5 separate regions of the Homo sapiens genome follow, and regions 2, 3, 4 and 5 are each linked to region 1. The links are contacts of gene promoters, found by promoter capture Hi-C in human tissues and cell types (Jung and others, 2019). All regions are on one chromosome and are shown on one strand. The core of a region is centred on a gene start or on the middle of the fragment in contact, and the rest is flanking DNA. Distances in the headings are between cores, read along the strand shown. Region 1 holds the start of STK35 (serine/threonine kinase 35). Region 2 overlaps ZNF343 (zinc finger protein 343). Region 3 holds the start of LOC124904858 (a long non-coding RNA gene). Region 4 has its middle 110 kb from the start of SIRPA. Region 5 has its middle 71 kb from the start of SIRPA.

The links. Contacts are between HindIII fragments. The study calls those that stand out against the background at their distance.
Region 2: a fragment that was not itself captured here is called in contact with the fragment with the promoter of STK35 in region 1 in 1 of the 25 tissues and cell types used here (aorta).
Region 3: a contact is called between a fragment that was not itself captured here and the fragment with the promoter of STK35 in region 1, in 1 of the 25 tissues and cell types used here (lymphoblastoid cells).
Region 4: a contact is called between a fragment that was not itself captured here and the fragment with the promoter of STK35 in region 1, in 1 of the 25 tissues and cell types used here (spleen).
Region 5: a contact is called between a fragment that was not itself captured here and the fragment with the promoter of STK35 in region 1, in 1 of the 25 tissues and cell types used here (dorsolateral prefrontal cortex).

The regions. Positions count from the first base shown.
Region 1 is chr20:2,099,603-2,105,009 of GRCh38, reverse strand. STK35 (serine/threonine kinase 35) reads right to left here and starts at 3,183. Exons shown (of 4, transcript NM_080836.4): 1 at 2,835-3,183; 2 at 1,645-2,242. The coding sequence starts at 3,128. RefSeq lists silencers at 1,768-1,817, 1,838-2,367, 2,658-2,707, 2,718-3,007, 3,108-3,297 and an enhancer at 1,454-2,422. The HindIII fragment of the contact is 6,364 bases long and covers 345-5,407 here.
Region 2 is chr20:2,490,308-2,495,714 of GRCh38, reverse strand. ZNF343 (zinc finger protein 343) reads left to right here. Exons shown (of 6, transcript NM_024325.6): 3 at 1,671-1,937; 4 at 2,138-2,196; 5 at 2,890-3,016. The coding sequence starts at 1,820. Among named protein-coding and RNA genes, the nearest start is that of ZNF343, 16 kb to the left of the region's middle. The HindIII fragment of the contact is 5,941 bases long and covers 1-5,407 here.
Region 3 is chr20:1,740,739-1,746,145 of GRCh38, reverse strand. LOC124904858 (a long non-coding RNA gene) reads left to right here and starts at 3,820. Exons shown (of 3, transcript XR_007067498.1): 1 at 3,820-4,380; 2 at 4,664-4,753. The HindIII fragment of the contact is 4,864 bases long and covers 1-4,777 here.
Region 4 is chr20:1,778,110-1,783,516 of GRCh38, reverse strand. It overlaps the pseudogene LOC100289473. Among named protein-coding and RNA genes, the nearest start is that of SIRPA, 110 kb to the left of the region's middle. The HindIII fragment of the contact is 3,631 bases long and covers 514-4,144 here.
Region 5 is chr20:1,822,004-1,827,410 of GRCh38, reverse strand. No RefSeq gene overlaps it. Among named protein-coding and RNA genes, the nearest start is that of SIRPA, 71 kb to the left of the region's middle. The HindIII fragment of the contact is 6,431 bases long and covers 50-5,407 here.

The DNA of each region.
Region 1 (5,407 bases), core at 1,934-4,433:
ATTTTTTTTTCTATTTTTTGTGGAGACCAGGGTCTCACTTTGTTGCCCAGGCTGTTCCCAAACTCCTGGGCTCAAGCCATCCTCCCACCTCAGCCTCCCAAAGTGCTGGGATTACAGTCGTGAGCCATTGTGCCCTGCTGGAAGTCTTTTCAAAACAAAAACACTCACCCTGGGGAGAGGGTAGGCTTCTCAGAATGGATGGGGCACGGATGGACTTTATAAAGTTAGACATCTAATTAAAGGACTCTAGGTGATACTGATTCATGTTTCCAACTCCACTGTCAAACAACTGACTTGCAATGGGACAAAGCGTTCTCTTGGGAAAGACTTGGGGGATCTTTAAGTTGTGCAAAAGTAACAAGATTTTGGGAAACCACCCCCTCCAAACTCACCCCAAATCCTACCCACTCTTAAAAAAGTTCATCCTCAGGGTGCAGAGAACAGCATTACGCCTTCGAAAGGATCCAGGCCTCGAATCAAGACAGATCTGGGATCCCCGTCACTTAAGCTCTGAGAAATGTAAGGAAACCAGGAGTACAGTCTAACTTCCCTTTCAAGCGGATTAACCCTGATCAAGTTATTTGTTCACTTCTAAGCCTTAGTTTATTTATAGAAAAAGGATAGAATTTACTTTTGAAGTTATTACCTAAAAATTACTTCAGCACTGAGACCACAGCTGGGACTCGGATTAGTAAACTTTCTTCCCCTGGATCCTCCTGCCTCGGAAAGTCTCCTCAAACTTTCTACCGCCTCTCTCCTCTCCAAGCAGACACTTAGCTACTGGTAGTATGAAAAAGGCTTGTGAGTACTGAGTAGTTAGGATGAATACATTCCCTAACTGCAGTTAAAACCCGGAAACTAAGATAATTAGTTCCTCCAGGACTGCAAGACCTCTTGCCTCAATGTACCCCATTTTCCTTTTAAGTAAAACCACTTCCCAGCCAGCCTCTGAGGTTAAGAAAAAGATTAAGAATGTAAAACGGAGGGAAAAGATGCCGGATGCTTTGTTATGTGACAGCTCTCAGGCCACCTGTGAGGGTTGTCAGCCTGCACCCCTCAGAGGACCAAGCCAGAAGACAGTCAGTTTGCTCGGCTGCCTGGGATGAAGGGCCGGGGGCCTCAGAGGAAAAGGCAGACGAGGAAGCCACAGGAGTTTGGGGGTTGGAGCTGGAGGGTGTCAGGAAACTTGGAACCAGACAGGGAGAGGGTGTGGGTGGGTCCAGTCAAGTTTTTTCTTTTTGTTTGTTTTGGGAGGGAAAGAGAGAGGCCCTCGGGGGTGAGGAGGCTCCGCAGTTCTGCTACTAACTGAACCCGACCCCTCCTCCACTCCCCCAACCGATCTTAAAAATAGAAGACGTTTAATAACCATAGCTCGCAATTCTTGAGCACTTATTAAGTTAATGGTTAGCACTTAAACGAGCTCTTGTTATGGAAACACCAGCCAACTTTAGGCCCAGGGACTGATCTTAGGACCTGAGAAGAGAGGGCCGAATGCCTGGGCCCAGGAAAGGAGGGTGTGTCAGGGCACAGGGTGACAGGGACCAGGTCTGAGGCCTAGGAAGGCCAGGAACAGTGTGGGCCAAGCCGTCCGGAGAGCAGGGGGTCCAGGCCCTGCGTGGGTGGAAAGGCCCGCGGTGCTCCTACCTTTCAGCGAGGTCTCCACCAGGCGCAGGTAAAGCTGCGAGCTCTTGTTGCCGTGACTCATGCGCTGGGCTAACCCATTGCGCTGCAGGACGCACTCCTCAAACTGCACGACGTTCTGGTGGCGCCGCTTGAGGCTGGTGAGGGCCCAGAATTCAGCCAGCGCCAGCTCCACGTTCTCGGGGGCGTCGCAGCGGATCTTCTTGACCGCCACCCGGGCCCCGCTGCGCCCGGCCACTGCCTCATAAACCACGCCGTAGCTGCCGCGCCCGATCTCCGCCAACAGGCTGTAACGCGGCCGCGCGGACCCGCCACCGCCCTCAGGCCGTCGCCGCGCCAGGAAGGCCTCGCCCGGGGCCTCGGCCGCCACCGGATCCATGGCCCGGGCCGCCGCCGCCGGCCTCAGCTTCGTGCTGGGCGCCCGCGGCACTGGGCTTCGCCTTTTCCGCTCCGGGCTTTGTGTACCTCTGCGGGCGCCGTCCTTCCCCGTTTCCATGGCTGCGGGCGGCGGGGGGAGCAGCAACGGCGCTGCCCGGGCCCCCCCTGCCTCATCCCTCCGTCCGGCCCTGGGACGCGGAGGAGCCGGACCTTGGATTGTGACCTGCGGGCGAAAGAATCGGTTAAACGGCCAGGCCAAGGCGGGGAGGCCAGGAGCGTAGGCCGCGGGGCGTCCCACCTCCTCCTCCCCCGGCCGCCGCGGCCCCTTTAAGACGGAAGCCACCGCCGCTGATTGAACGGGGGAGGGGAGGGGAAAGCGGGAAAGACCGAACCACTGGGCAGCAGCTCAGAGGGGGAACCGGAAAGAAAAGCACAAACTCTCCGCTCTCTCTGTTAGCTTGTCATGTAGCGATAGGAAAAAGAAGAGCCAGCAAGCTTCACGCCTTCTGAAAACCGCTTAGAGACGCGATTTGGCCGGCGGAAATATTTTTCTTTGCTTGGCCCCCTCTGTGACGCTCCTCCCCGCGCCCCGCCTTGTGTTCGCCCGGGTGTAAACAGTCCATTGAATTAAGCCCTAGCGGAGCCCAGCGGACCGACCCAAGTCCCCGAGGGCGACGGGTAGAAGGGATTGGCTGAAAAGTTCGGCTTCTCGGAGTGCGACTGGCCGAGGACCCGATTTCCCTTCCCAAGCGCGGAGGCAGTGGCAGTAACTCCAGCCTCGGCGCTGGCCTTCAGTCCTCCAACGGCGCCCTTACCTGGCCCGCGCACCTCCACTTCCGGGCGGCCCGTTTCCCCCCTGGAGCCCCTGCCTGGGGATGGTCCGCTCCGGGCCCGGGCTGCCTCCGGGACCGAGCAGCGCGGGAGGTGGCGGCCCGAGCCCGGCGTGTAGCGGATCCTTCTGCTGCCGCGGCGCTCGCTGGGGAAGCCTGGGCTCCTAGGCTCCCGTGGCTTTCCACGTGTTCGCGCCAGCTGAGCCCTTTACATAACCTCTTTACATAAGCTGCACCTCCCGCCGGCGCCCGGGCCAGCGGAGACTCCTGGTGGCCCATCCCCCGGGACGCCAGCCGAGTGAGCCCTGCACCGCCCGGTCCTGCAAAGGTCGACGGAGCAGCCGCAGCCGAGCGCACCGGCACGCCTTGCCGGGACCCAATCACTGGCGAGAACACCCAGCCAACAAAAAATAGGCGCGAAATTCCCGTGATCCGCGGCGGGCTCCGGGTCTCCGCAGCGGCCCGCGCATCACTATCCCTTCTCGCCTGATCTGCGTGAAGACCAACCGTCCGCAGTAGGCGCCTAATAAATACTGACTGGGTGATTGTCTTGGTCGTTTGATTCATAGCTCTGTCCTGGGAACCTCAGGGACTGGGTTGGAATCCCGACCTTCCCTTCTACCAGCCCAGTGATCTTGTGCAAATCATTGACCCACCCTGAGCATCCGTTTATCTAATGATCCTCTGCAAAATGGATAGAATGGGCTTTAATTCCCAGGAATGATAGACCCAAATGAAATACCTAGATGGAGGCTAATTGGGTGTGGGGCTGTTAGTACCCAAAGCTCCCATTTAGGCACAGATTTTTGAATATTTTGTTCTGTATTTTGTATTCCAGTGTAGGCCTAGTGGGTGCCCAGTGTTTGTTAACTGAATCTACAGATGTTTATTGAACACCCGTAATGTGCTAGGCACCATTCCAAGTCGCTGGGGAAAGAGCAATAGACAAGGCAGTTTCTGCCTTGGTTGAGGTTCTGTGCCACTGCAGGAGACAAACCACATGGGTGGCCTTGGGCAAGTTAGTCAACCTTCTTGTGTATTTGTTCCTTACCTGTAAGAAGATCCACAGAGGTTATACAGGTAAAGCACTTAGGACAGCCTTGCACACAATGTTAAGTATTATTAAATAAATGCACAGGATAATTTTTGCCAGTGGTAAGTGTGATGGAGAAAAAGAATGAGCTAAAGAGTGCTCACTGGATACAGGCCATTTCTTATAATGTATTTGGTCGCTGAAAACCTCTTAACTTTTTTGTGATTAAATTTCAAATTTACACATAAATTTCAAGAATCGTAAAGATCATATACTTTTCCACTAGAATAACAAATTGTTATATTTTGCTGCATATCCATATCCTCTCGTGTATGTGTATATATACACACAAATACATATTGTGTGTGGATATCTATATGGTATATACCCCAAAAGAAAGGAAATCAGTATACGGTATATAGATATTCACACACACACATATATAATGTATATATTCTTTTTTACTACATCATTTTAGAGTTTCCAACATCAAACTCCTTTATCCTAAATATATGTGTGTGTTTCCTTAAAAAAAAGACATTATCTGGCATAATCTCAGTACAGTGGTCAAAAATCAGGAATTTTAACAATGATACAATTGTTTTATTTAATACACTCCATCCATATTTAAATTTTGCTAATGGTCCCAATAATGTCCTTTATAGCTATTCCCCAGGATCCAATTCAGGATCAGACGTTGCACTGAGTTGTCATGCCTCTTTAGTTTCTTTTAATCTGGAAGGGCAGTTAGTTATCCAGCCTTTCTTTGTCTTTCATGACCTTGACATTTTTGAAGAATACTGGCGAGTTATATTGTAGAATGTCCCTAAATTTTTATTCATCTGTGTTTTCTTATTAGTTTCAGAGTATCCATTTTTCTCTCCTCCCCCACCCCCCACCAACCCATCCCTTGCTATTCTGAGAGGGTATGCATTTTTTGGCAGGACTACTGCTGAAAAAAGTTGCCTCCTCAGGGCCTTTCATCAGGAGGCACATGGCATTGTGTTTGTCCCAGTATTCGTGGTGTTAACTTCCATCATTTGGTTGAGGTGGTGTAGGAGTAGTTACACTCTACCATAAAGTTACGATTTTTCCTTCTGTAACTATTAAGTATTCTGTGGGAAGATATTTTGAGACTATTTAAATATCCTCTTCTTTAGACTCTTACCCACTGGTTTCAGAATTCATGGTGATTCTTGCTTGAAACAATTATTACAGTTGCAAAATGGTGATCAGAAGGTCTTTTTAACCATAACCTTTTTTCTATTTCTGTGAAGAATGTCATTGGTATTTTGATAGGGATTGCATTGACTCTTTAGATTGCTTTGGGTAGTATGGACATTTTAACCAATGTTGATTCTTCCTATCCATGAACATGAAATATCTTTCCATTTTTTGTGTGTCCTCTTCAATTTCTTTAATCAGTGTTTTATAGTTTTCATTATAGAGATCTTTCATTTCTTTAAATTAATTCCTAGGTATTTTTATTTATGGCTATTGTAAATGGGATTACTTTTTAAATTTC
Region 2 (5,407 bases), core at 1,553-4,052, 390 kb before region 1:
GGTGAGACTCTGTCTCAAAAAAAAAAAAAAGAAAAAAGAAAAAAAAAAGTCTGCACTTAGTACAGATCTTGCTTTATAACTGTTAGCTACAGATACTAGTGTTACTAGGAGAAAGGCTTTGTCAGCTTCAGCTACGTTATACTGCAGGTACTATAGGTTGGCTTTAGCTTTGTACCATGACTTTTTACAGTAGAACCACAGTCCCTCTTCGGACATGCTGTTCTCAGAACAAAAGAAATGGTGGAATTATGCAATGCTTAGAAATGGCATCGTCGCTTTCACTCACATTCATTTTCCAAGGCAAGTTACAAGGTCAAGCCTGATGTCTGGGACAGGGAAGTACCATCCTTTTATAGGGCAACAAATAATTGGGAACGATGATAAAATCTACCACAAAGGCCTCTTTTATTCTAATCACTAGAATTATATTAGCAAAAAGACTGAGAAGCATTTCATCTTACAAGAAGCTTCACAGTTTAGTAAAGACAGTCACGTAAATAGAGAAATTGCAATATGGTATGATGGCCAGGTTGGACAGAAGAGGGAGTGGTCATCTCTACCTATGGTGTTGAGGGATGAATTACAAGAGCTGCTTAGAGACCCCAGCTAGTCTCAGAAGGGTACTAGGCAACAATAGGCCTGTAGCCATTTGGGCTGAAATCCTGGACAGCGTCTGAGGAGCTTTTGAAGGTGGCATAGCTCCTAATACCACCTGCCTTCTTTGGGACCACATCAGTGTAGGACTTTGACTTGGGCCCATCAGGATACACAAATGCACATCTGTGGTAAGGTCATGTGGTAGACATGCATAGCAATGGAAGCTAGGAGGTTATCTCTTCAGAGTAATTGTGAGAACTGGAGCTCTCCCTTAACTAAGAAGGACTGAGTTTTGATCTCCTAAACTCCTCACAATACAGGGACATAGGGATTTTTTTTTTTTTTCTTGAGACAGGGTCTTACTCCTGCCGTCCAGGCTAGAGTGCAATGGCATGATCTCAGCTCACTGCAGCCTCGACTTCCCGAGGTCAGGTGATCCTCCCACCTCAGCCTGCTGAGTAGCTGGGACTACAGGCGCACACCACCATGCCCAGCTGATTTTTGTATTTTTTGTAGAGACGGCATTTCGCTATGTTGCCCAGACTGGTCTTGAGCTCCTGAGCTTAAGTGATTAGCTTGCCGTGGCCTCCCAAAGTACTGAGATTACAGGTGTGAACCACTGTGCCCATCCAAGACACAAGGAACTGAATATAGATGGAACCTTGGGTTGGGGCAGGGGAATCAGAAGCTGAGTTCTGCACGCCCCAGTTGGTCTACAGGAAACAGTCAGAGGCTCTTTCTCCACAGGCATTATGCTATATTCTGTCTTCTCTCTGACTCAGGCTTCAGGTAGTAGCAGAGACTGATCCAAAACATAGAGTTTGAATCTGAGGTGCAGAGGCAGAAGAAGTAAAGTTTGAGAGCTAAGGGAGAGTGGCAGAACACAAGCAGGAGGGCCTAGAAATGAAGGTAGAGTGAATGAAGGTAGAAAATCCAGGGATCCCATGTAGATGGAGACTCCGTGTTTGTTGAATGAGGAGGGTGTGAGAGGACAGGATCCCTGTTGAAGAGGCATAGGCCTAGGGCCCACAATAAAAGCCCCAGCAATAGCAAATTGCTTCTTCATCCCACAGGTCCTGGCTGCAGGGAAACAAGCTGGGCTTTTTATAATTAAGGTTGGAAGAAGTCACCACAGGCAGCAGAACTCCATCTTGAGATGAAATAACATCTACCTGGACCTCTGGCAGAATTTCAAGGCACACACTGGGCTGACTCTGGCGCCATGATGTTGCCTTATCCTTCAGCACTGGGAGATCAATACTGGGAAGAGATTTTGCTTCCAAAGAATGGGGAAAATGTAGAGACTATGAAGAAATTGACCCAAAATCATAAAGCGAAAGGTGAGAATTGTTGAGGGAGCCGGAGGGATGAAGAGGAAGCCAAGGCTCCAGGTTCACCTGAAAATGCTTCAGAGGTCACCTCTGAGTTAAGTGACTACTTCCTTCATCCTAAGGCTCAGAAGAGCTGCTCAGGGAGCGTCATGGTGGGGGGTGGGGGGTGGGGGGGTCTGGTTTCTCATAGCTTCTTTTTCTTTCCCTAGGCTTGCCTTCTAATGATACTGACTGCCCCCAGAAAAAGGAGGGAAAGGCCCAAATAGTGGTGAGTTGGGGTTACATTTTTTTTTTTTCCTGAAGTGCTGGCTCATTTTCCAGAGAATAGACATATATTCTCTTTCTTGGGAAAGGAAAAGGCGGTCAACATCTGGGTAGATGAGTGAAGCATTAGGCTTTCTTGAAAAAAGTTGTCAAAGCACATAGCAAAGACAGGGATTTTACAGATCCCATTTAGTAACCTGAGCTTTTAAAAAATGCTCATTCCAGACCCCATCTGTTCACTCCCATTTTTCTCTGTAATCCAAGTTTTCTTCCATTCTCTCCTCTAAATCTTTACCACTCCCTACTGCCCAGCACAAGCCCCAAGTCCATGATGCTTTTGTTCCTTCTGCAGCCCATTCTCTGCTGTTTCATCTCTGAATTCCTTCATTATGAATCCTCAAAGTCACTGTCTTAAACACAGCCTGAGGTTTACAAATTAATTCACAAATCATTTCTCCGGTGAAATCATATATGTCAAGGGCCTAGAATGTGTTCTGTGCTCAGTTATGCTCCTCACAGGTTTTAACAGAAAGCCAGGCAGACAGTAGTGCTCAGAAGAACTTCATATGGAGAACCATATATTCTGACGAATTACATCAACTTGCATATCCAGGCTCTCCAGGGTCACCAGCTGTGCTCCACACACAGGGAAGATTGATGGTGGCTTGCTATACATTAATTTACTGGTTGTTTGTAGGTACCAGTTACATTCAGGGATGTGACTGTGATCTTCACAGAAGCAGAATGGAAGAGACTGAGTCCAGAGCAGAGGAATCTATACAAAGAAGTGATGCTGGAGAATTACAGGAATCTTCTCTCATTGGGTAAGGCTGTGTTCTTTCCTTTCCTTCATTAATTCAGTAGAGATTTACTGATCACCTAATATGTACCACAAAAAAATGTTCTAGATACTTACAACACATTAGTAAACAAAATCGTAATCCCTGCCTCCATGGGGCTTACTTTCTAGTGTAAGGAGACAGACAACAAACAAAAAGCCTCATATACAGGGATATTATAATATGGTATGTTAAAAGGTGATAAGTGCAACATAGTAAAAAATAATGAAATAAGGCAGGATAAAGGGGTATTGGGTGTGATAGGGTGGCTGGCTGAAGTTTAAAACTGGGTATTTGAAATCAGTGAAGAAGTAATATTTGTCTAAAGACATAATGTGGTGAGGAGGTTAGAACTGTAGGTATCTAGTGTAAGAGCATTTCAGGTGAAGGGAATTATTGACACGAAGACCTTAATGAAGGGATGTACCTGCCCAGTATATGAAGCTGCAAGGAGGCAAGCAAGGCTGGGGGCATGGTTTGCAAGGGGGAGAGATGCAGCTCTGTGACATAAGTTAAAATTAAGAGTCAAGTTTATTGTGGTTTGGGGGTTTCATAAACTATGTTTTTTTCTTTTTCATTTGTTTACAAACCTAAACGAGGTCAGGAGATCGAGACCATCCTGGCCAACATAGTGAAATCCCATCTCTACTAAAAATACAAAAATTAGCTGAGCATGGTGGCATGTGCCTGTAATCTCAGCTACTTGGGAGCCTGAGGCAGGAGAATCACTTGAACCAGGGAGTCAGAGGTTGCAGTGAGCCGAGATTGTGCCGTTGCACTCCAGCCTGGTGACAGAGTGAAACTCAGTCTGAAAAAATAAAAAAAAATAAAAAAATATTTAAATCTGGGTTGATAAATGTTATCAATTGCAACATAACTCTAGATCAGGGGTTGGCCAACTTTTTCTGTAAAGGGCCAAACAATAACTGTTTTTACAGGTGATAAGCCCTCTGTAACAACCCTTAACTTGCCATTGAGTTGCAGCCATAAACAGTATGTGAACGGATGAGCATTGATATGTTCCAATAAAACTTTCTTTATAGACACTGAAATTTGAATTTAATATAATGTTTATGTATCATGAAATATTACTACTCTTTTTACTTTTTTCTAGCCATTTAAAAATGTAAAAACCATTCTTAGCTTGTAGGTGATACAAAAACAGAGGACTGGATTTAGCTTGTGGGTAGTCATTTTCCACTCCTTGTTCTAGATCAGTGCTGTCTAGTAGAAATATAATGTGAGCCACATAGGTAAGTTTAAATTTCCTAGTAACCACATTTTTACAAGTATAACTACAGGTGAAATCAACTTTAAGACTATATATATTATTTAATCCAATATATTAAAATATCATTTTAACATGAAATTAACATAAAACTTATTAATTAGGTATTTTACTTATTTTTTTGTACTGTCTTTGAAACCTGGTTGTATTTTACACTTAGAGCACATCTTAGTTCAGATTAGCCATGTTTCAAGTGCTCAATGAGCACATGGCCAGTGGCTGCTATACTGGATAGTACTGTTCTAGATATTCCTATGTTTCTAGATAAAACATGTAGAGAAGAATCACATTTTTGGAGACACAAACCAGTTTCAGGGAGGAGTTTCTTTGGGAGTTTGCTCCAAATGGCGTGGCTGTTTCCCTGATATGATTTAATCAGATTTACTTTATTCCATTTTCATCTTCTTTGATGTGTTTTGATCTGATTCGCTCTGGTTTGAACTAGCGCCCATCTGACCTGGCTCCATCTAAATCACTGTAGATTCATCCATTTCGGACTCGTTCTGTGTGTGTTTTTCCTTTTAAAAAAATGATTTATAATTTTTGTAAATGGTTTTGTGTGTTTTGATTTGGCCTTAGCTGGTTAGTCCAACTAGGTTTTGTTTTTATTTTTCTCTGGTCATACTGTTTTCTCTTCCACTGTTAATACATATAACTGATTCAGAGGAAAATGTTAAAACTGACCTGGTTCATAGCCAAGTGTGGTGGCGGGCACCTGTAATCCCAGCTACTCAGGAGGCTGAGGCAGGAGATTCACTTGAACCCAGGAGGTGGAGGTTGCAGTGAGCTGAGATCATGCCATTGCACTCCAGCCTGGGGAACAAGAGCAAAACTCCATCTCAAAAAAAAAAACAAAAACCAAAAAAAAGACCCATAAAACAGCAAACAAACAAACAAACACACACACAAACAAATGACCTAGTTCAAATGAATCTTGATATTGAAAACCTGGATCCCAATTGCATTCCTTGAAATCGTTTCCTTTGTCTTGCTTGACACCATAATGTTCCGCAGTCTCCAGCCTCTGACGTCTCTCTTTTGGGCTATTCCCTTCCTTCTTTTTCTTTTCTCTGGGCTGCAGGGGTCCG
Region 3 (5,407 bases), core at 1,096-3,595, 360 kb after region 1:
CATGTAACCACCACCCCCAATCAAAGTAAAGAACATTTTCTTACCAGAATAAATTTCCTCTCCCTTTGCAGTCATTCTCCCCAGCCCTAGGTCACCACTGATCCACCTTCTGTTACTGGAAGGTTAGTTTTCTTCCCTGATTTAGAATTTCATATGAATTAAATCAGATAGTATATACTCTTGTGTTTAGTTTCTTTACCTTAACATGTTTAGAGATACTTGCTGTTGCATATGTCTGTAGCTTTTTATTTTTATTGCTGAATAGGATTTCATTGTAATATACCACAATTGGTTTATGTATTTGCTGATGAATATTTGTGTTATTTCCAGTGTGGGATTATTATGAATAAAGTTGCTACAAAAAAAAAACAAAAGTACAGAGAAGCAGGGAAAGGAAAGATCTTTGGAAGGAGTCGTTAAGGGCTATAGCAAGTTTCCTCCCATCCTCAGGGTCAGGAGTGAGGGGGAAGCACCTGAAACCAAGCAAGAGAACTTTCAGACAACACTTCAGAGATCTTGACACTTATGCCAAGGGCTTGGGAGAGCAGAAGGGCTTGTACTAGAAGTGGTAGCTCCAATGGCCTAAGGCAGCAGAGCAAAAAGAGGCAGGGCTGCACCCAGGGCAGCTGCACTTCCTCCAGTGGTGGGACAATTAATCTGTAGAAGTCCCATCTCATTACACATGACTTTCCTATAAATATTGAGAGTCTCCATCAGCCAACACAGTTTTCTATGAAGTCTGGCCATATCGCAGTCACTTCAAGGAGTCTGATCCATGTCGTTACAGATATCCCAGTGAAGGGCTAAATAAAGCTTAGTTCATGATTTTTGCAAGTGAGAATGGAATAAAAGCTAATCAGATTCAAGGTTTGGTTATCCTTTGAACTCAACATTATGTTCTTGACAACTGATAAAAGCAAAAGAATTTAGACATACATCTTGCCCAAGCAGAACTAGTTTGGAAGGCTTTCAGGGAAAAGGCTGTTTAGAAGCATGAGACCAGAATGGGGAGCACTTGTGTGTACATTTCTACTCAAGTTTTTCCATTTTCCTTCTCTAACATCTTCTTTTGTCATAATCATTGTTTCTCTTTTTTTTTAATTTATTTTTATTTTTTATTTTTTTATTATACTTTAAGTTTTAGGGTACATGTGCACATTGTGCAGGTTAGTTACATATGTATACATGTGCCATGCTGGTGCGCTGCACCCACTAACTCGTCATCTAGCATTAGGTATATCTCCCAATGCTATCCCTCCCCCCTCCCCCGACCCCACCACAGTCCCCAGAGTGTGATATTCCCCTTCCTGTGTCCATGTGATCTCACTGTTCAATTCCCACCTATGAGTGAGAATATGCGGTGTTTGGTTTTTTGTTCTTGCGATAGTTTACTGAGAATGATGGTTTCCAATTTCATCCATGTCCCTACAAAGGACATGAACTCATCATTTTTTATGGCTGCATAGTATTCCATGGTGTATATGTGCCACATTTTCTTAATCCAGTCTATCATTGTTGGACATTTGGGTTGGTTCCAAGTCTTTGCTATTGTGAATAATGCCGCAATAAACATACGTGTGCATGTGTCTTTATAGCAGCATGATTTATAGTCCTTTGGGTATATACCCAGTAATGGGATGGCTGGGTCAAATGGTATTTCTAGTTCTAGATCCCTGAGGAATCGCCACACTGACTTCCACAAGGGTTGAACTAGTTTACAGTCCCACCAACAGTGTAAAAGTGTTCCTATTTCTCCACATCCTCTCCAGCACCTGTTGTTTCCTGACTTTTTAATGATTGCCATTCTAACTGGTGTGAGATGATATCTCATAGTGGTTTTGATTTGCATTTCTCTGATGGCCAGTGATGATGAGCATTTTTTCATGTATTTTTTGGCTGCATAAATGTCTTCTTTTGAGAAGTGTCTGTTCATGTCCTTCGCCCACTTTTTGATGGGGTTGTTTGTTTTTTTCTTGTAAATTTGTTTGAGTTCATTGTAGATTCTGGATATTAGCCCTTTGTCAGATGAGTAGGTTGCGAAAATTTTCCCCCATGTTGTAGGTTGCCTGTTCACTCTGATGGTAGTTTCTTTTGCTGTGCTGAAGCTCTTTAGTTTAATTAGATCCCATTTGTCAATTTTGGCTTTTGTTGCCATTGCTTTTGGTGTTTTGGACATGAAGTCCTTGCCCACGCCTATGTCCTGAATGGTAATGTCTAGGTTTTCTTCTAGGGTTTTTATGGTTTTAGGTCTAACGTTTAAATCTTTAATCCATCTTGAATTGATTTTTGTATAAGGTGCAAGGAAGGGATCCAGTTTCAGCTTTCTACATATGGCTAGCCAGTTTTCACAGCACCATTTATTAAATAGGGAATCCTTTCCCCATTGCTTGTTTTTCTCAGGTTTGTCAAAGATCGGATAGTTGTAGGTATGTGGCGTTATTTCTGAGGGCTCTGTTGTGTTCCATTGATCTATATCTCTGTTTTGGTACCAGTACCATGCTGTTTTGGTTACTGTAGCCTTGTAGTATAGTTTGAAGTCAGGTAGTGTGATGCCTCCAGCTTTGTTCTTTTGGCTTAGGATTGACTTGGCGATGCGGGCTCTTTTTTGGTTCCATATGAACTTTAAAGTAGTTTTTTCCAATTCTGTGAAGAAAGTCATTGGTAGCTTGATGGGGATGGCATTGAATCTGTAAATTACCTTGGGCAATATGGCCATTTTCACGATATTGATTCTTCCTACCCATGAGCATGGAATGTTCTTCCATTTGTTTGTATCCTCTTTTATTTCCTTGAGCAGTGGTTTGTAGTCCTCCTTGAAGAGGTCCTTCACATCCCTTGTAAGTTGGATTCCTAGGTATTTTATTCTCTTTGAAGCAATTGTGAATGGGAGTTCACTCATGATTTGGCTCTCTGTTTGTCTGTTGTTGGTGTATAAGAATGCTTGTGATTTTTGTACATTGATTTTGTATCCTGAGACTTTGCTGAAGTTGCTTATCAGCTTAAGGAGATTTTGGGCTGAGACAACGGGGTTTTCTAGATAAACAATCATGTCGTCTGCAAACAGGGACAATTTGACTTCCTCTTTTCCTAATTGAATACCCTTTATTTCCTTCTCCTGCCTGATTGCCCTGGCCAGAACTTCCAACACTATGTTGAATAGGAGCGGTGAGAGAGGGCATCCCTGTCTTGTGCCAGTTTTCAAAGGGAATGCTTCCAGTTTTTGCCCATTCAGTATGATATTGGCTGTGGGTTTGTCATAGATAGCTCTTATTATTTTGAAATACGTCCCATCAATACCTAATTTATTGAGAGTTTTTAGCATGAAGGGTTGTTGAATTTTGTCAAAGGCTTTTTCTGCATCTATTGAGATAATCATGTGGTTTTTGTCTTTGGCTCTGTTTATATGCTGGATTACATTTATTGATTTGCGTATATTGAACCAGCCTTGCATCCCAGGGATGAAGCCCACTTGATCATGGTGGATAAGCTTTTTGATGTGCTGCTGGATTTGGTTTGCCAGTATTTTATTGAGGATTTTTGCATCAATGTTCATCAAGGATATTGGTCTAAAATTCTCTTTTTTGGTTGTGTCTCTGCCCGGCTTTGGTATCAGAATGATGCTGGCCTCATAAAATGAGTTAGGGAGGATTCCCTCTTTTTCTATTGATTGGAATAGTTTTAGAAGGAATGGTACCAGTTCCTCCTTGTACCTCTGGTAGAATTCGGCTGTGAATCCATCTGGTCCTGGACTCTTTTTGGTTGGTAAACTATTGATTATTGCCACAATTTCAGCTCCTGTTATTGGTCTATTCAGAGATTCAACTTCTTCCTGGTTTAGTCTTGGGAGAGTGTATGTGTCGAGGAATCATTGTTTCTCTTTATAGGCACAGACTCAGAGATTAGTCATTACCTTGGACCTAAACTTTTTTTTTCAAATGTATACATTTATAGGTTGCTACCATTTTTTCAGTGGCCTGAGGAAAACTACTATTTTGAAGTAAAGTAATACCATAGAGTATTTTATGGACCTTCATTGTCTTTTACTGGCTTGATGAAGCCAGTCACGGCCCCCACCCGCTCTCTTTTTTTTTTTCCTTAAGCAGATGAAAGGAAAGGGCAACCTTATTTTTTCTAAAAATCTATCTTCTTCTGACATGTTGGAGGGCTTATGTATTTTGTTTTATTCTCGTTCAAAGCCTTTAGCTTAAGCTATGTCAAGGCTGTCTATAGCAGTTGACTTCTGCTTTCTGCTGGGTCTTCAATTCCTGTTCCTCCTGCCACAAAAGAGCGGTTGCTGATGCTACTTTAGAAAGTGAAGTCATTTGCCTTTTCGGGTAGAATGAAGAAAGCCCGGAGGAGGCTGCAGAATCTTTTCACATGGTGAATATAGCAGGAAGAAAGGAAGGGAGGGAGGGAGGGAAAAAGAAGAAAGGAGGGAAGGAAGGAAGGAAGGAGAAAGAAGGAAAGAAAGAAAGGAAGAGAGAAAGAAAGAAAGAAAAAGAAAGAAGAAAAGACAGAAAGAAAAAGAGAAAGAGGGAGGGAGGGAAAGAAAGAGAAAGAAAAGGAAGGAAGGGAAAAAGAAAGAAGGAAAGAGAGAAGGGAAGGAAAGAGAAAGACAGAGAAAGAAAGAGGAAAGAAAGAAATAGAACTTTCTGTCTTACAGAACTAGATACTGCTCCTGGAGGCCTGGGTGTGACCGTGACGTAGACTCTGGAGCCACAGGATAGACCAGTGACCTCATTTTTCTTGCCAGGTGAGGTCTGTAAGATTTTGATTTGTCTATAATCTGGAATAGAATTGTGCCTTCAAATAAGTGACTTTTCTAACTTTAGGTTATACATGGTGTGATACTAACTTAAAAATAAGTGCATTTTCCTTCAAATAAACTGTTTCTTACGTACAGCAATTTGTAACTTAACAACAGTGGGGTTCTTCTTGGGTGTCTTGTTTTGCATTCTGTAGGTAAAGAGCTGAATTTAACACCGGTTGCAAGAAAAAAAAACTCCCAAGTGCATTTTAATTTCTCTTTCTCAAATTTCTTTTCTTGGATATGTAATATTAAGTGTATACAACACCAATTTAATAAATATCCTATACATTGCCTATATATAAGACCTCTTCTGGGGAATTGGAAAGTTATCAATGTTTTTAAGCAGCTTCAGTTCTCACGAATGAAATAGCTTGTGTACAGGATGATGAGCTATTCGTTAAACATAATCATTGTGCAGGAAGTAGCAAGGGTGGTGTTTTGTTCAGAGTTTGTATCAAAATACCCATTCTCCTAGGCTTTATGTTCTCAACAAATGACTATATTTTATAACATAAAATGTGAAGTTGTTTTGTAATTGGAAAAGGGGACAAAGAACATGTACTGCCATTAGGAAATATCCTTTTGTGTTCAGCTTTG
Region 4 (5,407 bases), core at 1,080-3,579, 320 kb after region 1:
ACCTCACCCCCTTGCCACTCTGCATGGAGGAAGCTTGAGCTGCTGCCCTGCCACCCCGTCACTCTACCCTGCTGTCTCTTTTCAGTTCCTTTTTCTCCTGCTCAGGGCAACATCAAGGTGGATCAGCAAATCCACTGTTGCTTCAGGAGACACCTGGAAAAAGAAAAGCCAGCCTCCTCCTCCTGCAGGCACGTAATATCTAGGAGTCATTTTGGGGTGCCTTGCTTGGCTGAGTAGTGGTGGGGGGTTGTGAGGTCAGGGGAGTTTCCATAACAGCCTCACCCAGGCTAGAAAACTCCTCTCTAGCCTCTCCCTCCACTTTAGCTGAGCGTACAGACCCCAAAGAGATGGGATGGCTGGGGAGCAGGCTGGGCTTGGCTGCTTTGTAATCAGTCTTGAGAACATACCTGGCCCCAAAGGTTCATTTGTTATTAGCGAGTATCTATTCTGTGCCCAGCACTGTGTGGCTGCTGGTTACAGCCATGAACAAAAAGCAGTAGTCTTCAGGGCAAATCATTTGTTTTTCATGAGGGAAATGGATAAAAACGAGTAATATACATCAGGGCTAACCATTGGAAAGCCCAGTAACGTAGGGTAAGGAAATGGAGAGAGACCAAAGGGAGAGGTTGTTTTCATAGGGAGGTCAGGGAAACTGGTGGCTGTGTTTCAAACTCATGTTTCCCCAACGTGGAGCCTAGTAGACAGTTCTGGGCCATGGGAAATCCGTGCCACCATTGTCCAAGCCCAGTTAAGCTGTGAGGCAAGGGTTGGGTTTCAAAGTCTAGGGTCTTTCTTGGTTGCACGTGGTTGTGTATGTCAAGGCTCACTTCTCAACCCTCTGGGCCCATATCTGATCCATTCTGCATTCCCAGAAGCCGTGTCTGGGCCTGGGACAGGGCAGGCTCTTGATGCTGCTTGTTCAGCATGGAGGAGCCTCCAGGACAAGGGACATCAAGGCTCAGCCTATCAGAGGCCAGCTCTGTGGCTTGAAGCTTGAGGCAGAGCTCAGCCGCTTTCTGGTTTTGCTCATGGGGAATCAGGGACAGTCGGAACCCATTAAAAGGCTCCAGATGCCTCCCTGGTTAGACACCTCAGGCCTGAAGGTTTGCAGCTTGGAAGGAGGCCGTGGCCACAGTGACCACTTCCCTCACTGTGGCTCAGGCCTCTGTTCCAGGCATGGCAGAGAATGGGGTGGGGTAGGCAGCTGGGAAGTATAAGGCCTGCTCCAGGCTGTCAGAGGCTGGTCAGTGGCTCCTGGGCTCTTTCAGGGCCTTATCCAGTGGTTGCCACCAGGAACAGACCAGGAGCACTGTGAGTCTCTCACCATGGCTACCACACCTGGGCGGGCCCTGGGCTCCCTCCTGCCCACCCTTCTGCTGGGACTCACAGGTGAGTCCTGATTCCTGCCCAGAGAGACCCTCAGGGCAGGCAAGGAGACCCCCAGGAATGACCAAATCCAGCCACTGTGTCTTTCTGAAGGAAGACTGAGGCTCAGAGGAGGTGACTGAGCTGTTTTCCTGCCAGTCAGGTGCTGTTTTGCATCTTTTCTTCAATGTAGACCTTGCGGACAAAGGGAGCTGGTGGGAGCTTGGGGGTCAGAAGAGGAAGTGACCTAAGGGTGAGGGGCTCGGGGGAGGTCAGGGGGTAAAAGAGGAGCCCACCTCCCAGTTTTCCCGATGTCAGCTCTAGTCTGGGTGGCTACCTGTTCTGGGTCAGAGAGGGTGTAAGGGTGGAAAAGACAGAGCGAGAGAAAGAAAGAGAGAGAGAGAAAAAAAAGAGAGAGAGAGAAGTCGCCAGAGTGATGGAGCCTCCGGCATTGGAGGCATGGAAGAGTCCTGGACCCAAAGTCAGACAGGCCTTCTTACCCTCCCTCTTTAGTCACTGATAGGCTGTGTGACCTTGAGCAAGTCACGAGACCTTTCTGAATCTCTGTTTCCTTTTCTGGAAAGTGAGGACAATAATACCAGCCTCCCACAGCTGAGATGTGGAAGAAAAGAAGCACACATGGCTGAAAATGTTTTCTGAACCACACGGTGCTGTGTGCAGGGTGGGTGATGAGGGCAGAGCACAGTCCAGAAGGTACCAGAGCTGTGTGCTAAGAGGACAAGTTCCTATGGCCTCCTGCGCTGCCCTCTGCCTGTCATCCTGCTTGTCATTGGTTGTTTATTTGCCTTTCACCCCCATCTGACCAGATGCTTCTCAAGGGTGGGGGTCCTGTCTGACTCATCTCTGTGGTCTCAGCACCCAGCTCTTGACCTGGTGCAGAGCAGGGGCTTAGGGAATGCTGTGAAGACTTGGGGAGTTTCTTGCTCCAGAGCTCTGCAAGGCTGTCCTTAGAAGGAGGGGTGAGTCTCATCCTGCAGTTTTCCTGGGAAAATTCTGGGAGACAGATCCCAGGTTATATCCCAGAAGCAGGAAATATTTTGTCATAGTCCTAGCTGGGTGTGAGGGTGAATGGAGCTGCTTCTCATGGAGACAGCTCCCTGTCACTGCAGGTAAGCAAGCAGACAACGGGGGTCTAGTGAAGTGTTGATGGGAGGCACCCGAGTAGGGGGGCCAACCATCCCTGTTGGGGTGATTCTTGACTTTACACTCAAGTCCTTATAAACTTACATCCACAATGGAAATCCTGATTCATCACCATTCCCTTCCTATCCCAACTTGGTCCTTCTCCAGATCTTCCCAGCTCAAAAAGTAGAGCTACCACCCACACAGCTGCTCTAGAGAAAACCTGGGAATTGTTGATCCAGAATTCATTCTGTCCCTCACCCCCCATCCCGCCCATCACTGAGTCCTGTGGGCTGTATCTTCCAAATGTGTCTCGAGCCTCCTTTTCTCACCACCCTAGTCCAGGCTACCATCACCTTGGCCTGGAGGTCTGTACCAGCTTCCCCACTGGTCTCCCTGCTTCCATTCCTGCCACGCTCCTTCCCATTCTCCACACAACAACCCCAGTTATCCTCTAAAAAATGTACATCAGACCACTTTGCCCCTCTGTTAAAGTCTCTGCTGGTTTCCCATCACTCTCAGAATAGAATCAAGATCATCACCATGGTCCCCAGGCTCTTCTCACTCTGGACCTCTTTGCCATGACACTAGGGTCCCCTACAGACTTCTCAGTTTCTCAAGCCCACCAAGCCCTTCCTGCCTGAGGTCCTTCTCTCCTGCTGTCCCCGCTGTCTGGAATGTCCTTCCTCTGTCCCTTCCCATTGCTGGCTCCTATTCATTCCTGAGTTTCAGCTCAATGATGTCACCTCCTCAAGTAATTCTTCCCCAGCTGCCCTTCTAGAATAAGTCCTCCCTGTATTCTCCATCTATGCAGTCTTTGGGTTTCCTTGATGGCACTGGGATCAGTCATAATCACATTTGCATTTGCTTGTTTTCTTATGATCAAATGCCGATATGCTGCCTGAAGACAGAATCAGACACAGCATATAGTAGGCCCCCAGGGCCTGACACAGCTCTGGTGCCACTGGTGCCTGTGGGGTGTGTCCCACTCTCAGTGTACAATCACAATTGCTCTTTCCTTAGCTGGACAGCCCTTCATCTCTCTGACTGGTCCATCTCACAGGACAAGCCCTGGAGACTCAGTGCCTTTCAACTGTACTGCTGTCCCCTTCAACTCCCAGGACTTCTCCCGGGACTTCAATGTTACGTGGTTGAAGGACAGTGATGAACATCCAGCCTCAGCTCAGCGCCTGGTGCCTGACAATGGAGGCAATGACTTCATCACCAGCAAGGCATGGGTGACACTGACCCGACAGGATGTCTCATCTGAGATCACCTGCGAAGTCACCCACAGGGCCCTGGCAGAGCCCCTGAAAACAACCATGAATCTCTCCCAAGTGCTCTGAGGTGAATGGGCAGTCAGGTGGGGTGGACATTAACCCTGGAAGCATCCAGCTTTCAGGGTTTTTGCCCAAAGCCTCATTTCATAAATGGGGAAATGAAATTCCTCATGGATTTCTGATCATGTGTATTGTGGTTATAAGCGCAGGTTCCAGGGGCTCGCTGTCTGGGTTTTAATCCTAGCTGTGCCACTTTACAACTTGTGGGATCTTGTGAGTTACTTGACTATTTAATACCAGTTTCTTTATATAACAGGAAAAAAATGAGGACCTACTTCATAGCTGTCCTGTGAAGATTAAATGAATTATTCCTTATAAAACACACATAACAGTGCCTGGCATGCAGTGACTTACTTACGAATGTTTGATCTTGTTATTATCTGGTCCCAGACTCCCTTTCTAAACATCTTTGTTCTATTAATGTCATTGTTACAGTTTTTTTTTTAAATGTTTATTATTCATTTAATAATAATGAATATCCACTGTATGCCAGACCCTGTGCTCAGTGCTGGGGATGCAGCAACGAGCAAAATAAAGTCCCTGTCGTCATGGGCATCACCTTTTACTAATTCTTAAAATTATATTTTCTGATATGAAATATTTCAAAAATACAGAATATAGCAGACACCCAGGTACCCTTACCCATATTTAATGAATATTAACATTTAGCCCTATTTGCTTTACATTACGCATACAAGAAAAAAATATTTCTTTAAAAAAAGGCGAGAGACCTTGAGGCTGTTCCCTGGGAGAGGGAAGCATGGGTGGCCACAGGCAGGGGCTGATTTCACCAGGTCTTACTTCCTATTCCTCTGTCTAGTTGTCCCCACCCTGAAGATCACCACTGAAACCTCTGGGACCCATGTACATGTGCAAGACAGAGTGAATCTCACCTGCCACGTCCTCCACTTCTATCCCGCCCACCTGCGACTCACCTGGATGGAGAACAGGAGCATGATCCAGACCCTGGTGTCCCCTCGTCCCCTCAGGCCACCAGAAATCCAGATGGGACATACTCTCTGGAGCACACGTGGCAGGCAGAGGCCACGCTGGAGGAGCGTGAGTTTGCTTGCTGGGTGGTCCACGATGAGCAGCCCCCACTCAAGGCCAACGTCACCCTGCAAGCCCAGGTGCGCAGGCAGGGGAAAGGTGGGTACAGCCTCTGGCCCAGCCCCTCTGGACATCCCCTGTGGGCAGCACGGCTGGGGAGGGTCAGAGACTCAGGGCGGCATTGGATGATGGTGAAGGAAGGAAGGATACCCGCAGCTGGTGATACAACTCTCACACATTCGCCCCCAGACTCCACTTCTCACGCCTTCCTCCACACCCTCCCCAAGAAGAAAGGGTGGGACTCCCCTTCCCTAATTCCATGCATTCTTGATGTTGAAAGTTCTCCACCTTAACACTTGACTGCAAGAAATGGCAGAGGTTAAGGACTGCTGAGCACCAAAGTGCCTTCTAGAAAGGCTATTAATCAAGACTGGCACAGTTGAAAGTTTCTGGATGGCAACTTTAAACAGAGGCCAGAATTCTGAATTCAGCTGGAAAAGAGGGTCCAT
Region 5 (5,407 bases), core at 2,016-4,515, 280 kb after region 1:
AGACTGAAGTAGGGTCATACCCCCAGGTCGTTGCACTGGCTGTGCCCTCTGCAGAGAATACCCTTTTCCTCCCCTCCCCACCCGCAGGTTAATGCTGGTTGGCTTTTTAAGACAACTTAGCCTAGGAAAGGAGGAAATTCACTTTTCATTGGAAATCTTCTGTGTTTAAAATTTTTGCTACGTGGAAAAATTTTTAAATGGAAATATTTTGTTGAATGGTTTATTCATTCAACAGATATTTGTGGAGGACCTACTCTTCATCAGACAGTGATGCCAGATGCTGTTAAGCAAGATAGAAGTGGTCCTGGCCTCCGGGAGCCAACAGTCTAGTTCAGGGGGCTCTTAGCTTTCGCCACATCGGAATCACTTGGGGAGCTTTAAAAATTATTGATACCTGGGCCTCACCCCAGCTATCTTGACTCAATTGCTCTGCAATGGGACATTTTCTTCTTCTCCTTCTTCTCCTCTCCTTCTCTTCCTTCTTCTTCTTCTTTTTTTTTTTTTTTTTTTTTTTTTTTTGAGACAGGGTCTCCCTTTGTTGCCCAAGCTGGAGTGACTGCATTGGCCCTATCTTGGCTCACTGCAGCCTCAACCTCCCAGGCTCAAGCAATCCTCCCACCTCAGCCTCCTGAGTAGCCGGGATGACAGGGACATGCCACCATGCCTGGCTAATTTTTATTATTTTCTGTAGAGACAGGGTTTTGCCATGTTGTCCGGGATGGTTTCAAACTCCTGGACTCAAGTGATCCATCTGCCTCAGCCTCCCAAAGTTCTGGTATTACAGGTGTGAGCCATTGCCGCACCAGGCTCTGCAATGGGGCACTGGGATTTTCAGTAGCCACTCAGGTGATCCCAGAGGCCAACAGCATGGAGAACCATGGTTTTGGGGAAAGGAGACAAATGAGCAAATCACCAAAATGCACAGACCATGATACATGCATACGGTGAAGGAAATCTATACCAGGAAAAGGGACCAGCATGATAGGGTTGCTGTTGAAGATGGCCTGACCCTAGAGGGCCCCTTGGGGTGGGGGGGTACCGCAGCAGGGAGTGGGGCAAAGAAAGTGAGGAGATGGATCACTGGAAACCTGGGGGAAAGCAGTCCAGTCACAGGGAAACAGCAAGCGTGAAGGCCCAGGGATGGGAAATGGTGAATGTGATGAACAGCAAGGCGGCCGGTGTGGCTGGAAGGCTGCAGATGGGTGGGGAGGGAGAGAACAGAAGGAGGCAATGTTGAGAGGTGTCCTGTGGTTCCCCCAGGCCTGAAGGAGTCAGTGCTGCCTCAGGAACCTGACTATCTTCCTCTTATTCTTAGTCCTAGTAACCCACATAGAAACTGGCAAGAAGTGCCTGGTCTGAATATTGGGATCATTCTTGCCTGTCCCAGCAGGCTCAAAGTGAGCCCAGAATGGGTGGCCTCTTCCTCCTTCTCCCTTACCCCAACCCAGAGCCCACAAAAGCATGTGGCTTGGAGGAGACAGGTAGCTACCAGAGGTCAAGGAGTCCCTGCCCTGTGCCTTGGGAAGGACCTGCCCTCCCTCTACAAAGCTAGACAGCTGGACCTACCTGACCTGGGTCCTGGGGGCCGCTGGAACTAGGAAGGGCTCTGGCGTCATGAATCACAAACTGGCATGACATCACCTTGTCCAGTGGACATTCCAGAGGCTTAAAATCTCAGAATTCTTAATATTAGAGTAATAACTTAGTTATTTTAGAGTGTCGTATTAGAATTGCATTCAAATAATACAGAAATGTCATATTGCGTTAGCAGCCTAGATTGGAATGTTGTGGTACAATGTCTTATAATATTGCATTAGGACATGATGTAATGTTATGTGTTAGAATGGTATGTTGCTCCAGAGTGTAGGATTAGAATATTGGTTAGAATTGTGCTGAAATGTTGAATTAGAATATTAATCTGTGTTAGAACATTATATTTGAATGCAATGTTATAATAGTATATTAGTGTTACATTAAAATATTATATTGTGTTGAAATGTTTTCTTAGCAAGTTTTCTTAGAATGGCATGTTGAATCTTAAAATCAAAAGGGAGCGCATGAAATTGTGGGGTTCTTTGATGGCATGCAAAACACCACCTGACCTAGGAATGGTGGAGTAGCGGTGGCAGGGCCTGGATTTGGGCTCAGCTCTGACACTGACTCCTTTCCCTGCTCTTCCTCTCTCTGGACCTCAGTTTCCCCATTTTTACATCAGGAGCTGTTGGGCAGTGTTGGCCTCTAGGGCCTCTCTCATGCTGACTGTTTATGGGGCTCTGAATGCTGGACATTCGCGCTACGCCAACTCCCGGGCAGGAAGTGAAAATTCTGCTTAACAATGAGATTGATCTTATCAGGGAATGAATGACTTTCTGGGAGTAAACAGCTTCCTCACTGACAGGAAAAGTAAGAGGATCAAGTGACCAGGGTGAGAGAAACTCCAGACCAAGCAGGCAGGAGTATAGACCTCCAGCCAGCTGCTCACTCTTCCCTAAAGGCACAATGACTCCATCCTGCAAACTGGGGGTGAACCAGAGTCTCCTTCTTCCTTCTAGAAACATTTCCCCATCCATCCCACCCAGTCTTCTCCAGACCCCATGGCTGACCACAGTTTTAGGCTGCTATCCCTGACTGATGGGCCGAATTGCTGAGTTCTGAGCCCCTCATCTTTGCCCCTAGACGTTGGCTGGACTCTCGACCATCTCTGTTTTCCCCCTCCCCTATGTGGATCAGGGCATTTCAGAAGTAGGCCTAGAACAGATGGTTTCAGCAAAAATATCCCGGGCCTTCCCACCTGAACTCTCCCTGCCCCTCACTCTCTAGAAGAAAAAACAAGTGATGGCAAGGCAACCTGGAAAAATCCACACATTTACACAAGCTCTGATCCTTCTGTACATCTTCATGTTTTGCATGCACCACCACCCACAGACCCTGTGGTCCCTGATCCAAGACAAGGAGGGGGTTAAGAGCAAGGCCCAGCAGACCAGCTAATGACCATCAGTGCTCTTGTGCAACCCACTTCCCCTTCTGAAACTGTGTCCTCCATTGCAAAATGAAGTAAGGGTTTTGACCTTATTAAGCATGATGGGCATGAATTTGAGGTAACACCTGCAAACCATTCAGCTCAGCACTTATCAAGTGGCAAATGCACTGAGCTTGTTGAGGTTGAAATTGTCTAGAACTGGGCACACCCTACACCCACCCTAATGCCTTCAGCTTGAGGTCTGGGCCCCAGCCTTCCTGCATGCTACAGCTTGGAGGGTAACATTCATATCTCGCGGTCATCCTGAGATGAAAGGGAAAATCCACAGGAGAAAGACAGCCAGGGGTCTTGGTGATTGGAAGAAGGCTTTCTTAAGAAGCTTGTAGTGAGCATGATGTTTTTTGCTTAAATAAATCTCTTGATACTTTTGAGGGCAGACAAGGCCTTGGAACCTGGAGTAAAGAGGCTGGGCAGAGTTCTAGGCCCACATGGCGTCACTGGCTGACCTCTTTCTATCTCAGGGTTTCAGTTATCTAATCTGGAAAATGGGGCTTTAAAAGGCACTTCTTTCACAGGTCATTGTGGGGGTCAAATGAGATGGTCTAACTCAGAAATCTAGGAAAGGCCGTGAGAGGCCTGGTGTGGTATAGGGATGGAGAACAAAAAATAACACGAAGAAAAGGAGAAATGAAAGGGGAAATGGAGGGGAAGGGATAACTTAGAGAGATTGCATGCTATGGGCAGTCCCTGAGGCAGTCGCCAAGGCAACTTAGAGAAACAGCAGGTGGTAGGCAGTCAGCAGCTCTGCCACTAGCTTGTTGTGTGACTTCCAGCTGGTTCCCTGCCCTCTCTGAGCCTCAGGGTCCTCATGGGTAACACTGGCCATTCAGACTGGACAACTCCAATGGTGAACTCACCCGCCTCCCTTGGTCCCCTGGATTCCCTGATATGCAGCCGTAAGCCCTGAAGTGCTTGGCTGGGGAGACTAGAGTTGATCACAATTCCTAAACACCTTCACTCCTATTTTCATGGTTGGACCATGGATGGCAAGGAAAGGATCTCAGATTTCTGGAGGTGACAGCTGGGACAGCTGAAGATGGTCAGGTTCAAGCTCCTGCCTGAAGCTTGCCAGACGCTATCTGTCCACTTTTGCTGTGGTCACCTAGTGGGGATAGTGGAAATTGAGCAAATGTGTGTTAGTCATAAATGCCTGGTATGAGAACAAAGCAGTAAGCAAGCCAGATCCAGTTCTTGCTCTCATGGAATAACGTCTGGGGAGCAGGGTGAATAATACATTAGAACTCTGCTATTTGGTGCATATATGTATGTAATTGTTATATCTGCTTGATGAATTGACACTTTTATCAGTATATAATGTTTTTTGTCTCTTGTAAACATATTTGACTATTATGTATAGCATTCGTATAGCCATCTCAGATCTCGTTTGGTTACTATTTGTATGAAATATATTTTTTCATGTTTTCACATTCAATCTATTTGTATCTAAAATGAGTCTTTTGTAGACAGCATATAGTTGGATATTTAAAAAAATTCATCCTGTCAATTTATGCCTTTTGATTGGTGAGTTTAATCCATTTACATTTAAACTAATTACTGGTAATTAGGAACTTTTGCAATTTTGTTATTTGTTTTCTCTCAAATGTGCTGTTGAACTCTTCTAGTGAATTTTTCATTTCAGTTATTGTATTTTTCAGTTCCATAATTTATATTTGGTTCCCTTTTATAATTTCTATCTCTTTGTTGATATTATAATTTGGTTCATATATCATTCTTCTGATTTCCTTTAGTTATTTTTCTGTGGTTTTCTTTAGCTCTTTGAGCATTTTTAAGACAGTTGTTTCAAAGTCTTTATCTAGTAAGTCCAATGTCTGGGCTTCCTTAGGGATAGTTCCTGTCAATTTATTTTATTCCTTTGAATGAGCCATGTTTTCTACTTCTTTGTTGTGTTTTTGTTGTTGTTGTTGTTGAAAACTGGACATTTGAAAAAACAGCTGCCTCTCCCAGGCTTTGCAAACTGACTCTGTGTTACACAATCCTTCACCAAGGTGAAAGCTTCAGGTCTTCTCAGGTCTTTTCTGAGAATGAATCTTGCCTGCTCCTAAATGTGGCTTACTCAATTCCTCCATATGTACAGCTGCTTTTGAATGTCTTACTTTTTCAAAGAATCTTACCCCAGCACCCAGCTTCTCCTTAGGGCCACAGATGGTCTATTGTGTGTGTCCACTCATAATCTCTTGCCCCAGTCATCTATGGGTCTATAGTCTCCCTGCAGCTTCCACCAACAGTGCCCTCAGCTTCCCTCTACCTGAGATTTTAGTTAGACAAAACAGAGAGCTGTCCTCCAGGCAGGCCTCAGACCAGTTAGAGTGTTGCCAGTAAGGTAGGCTTGCTCCCTCTGGCTCAAGG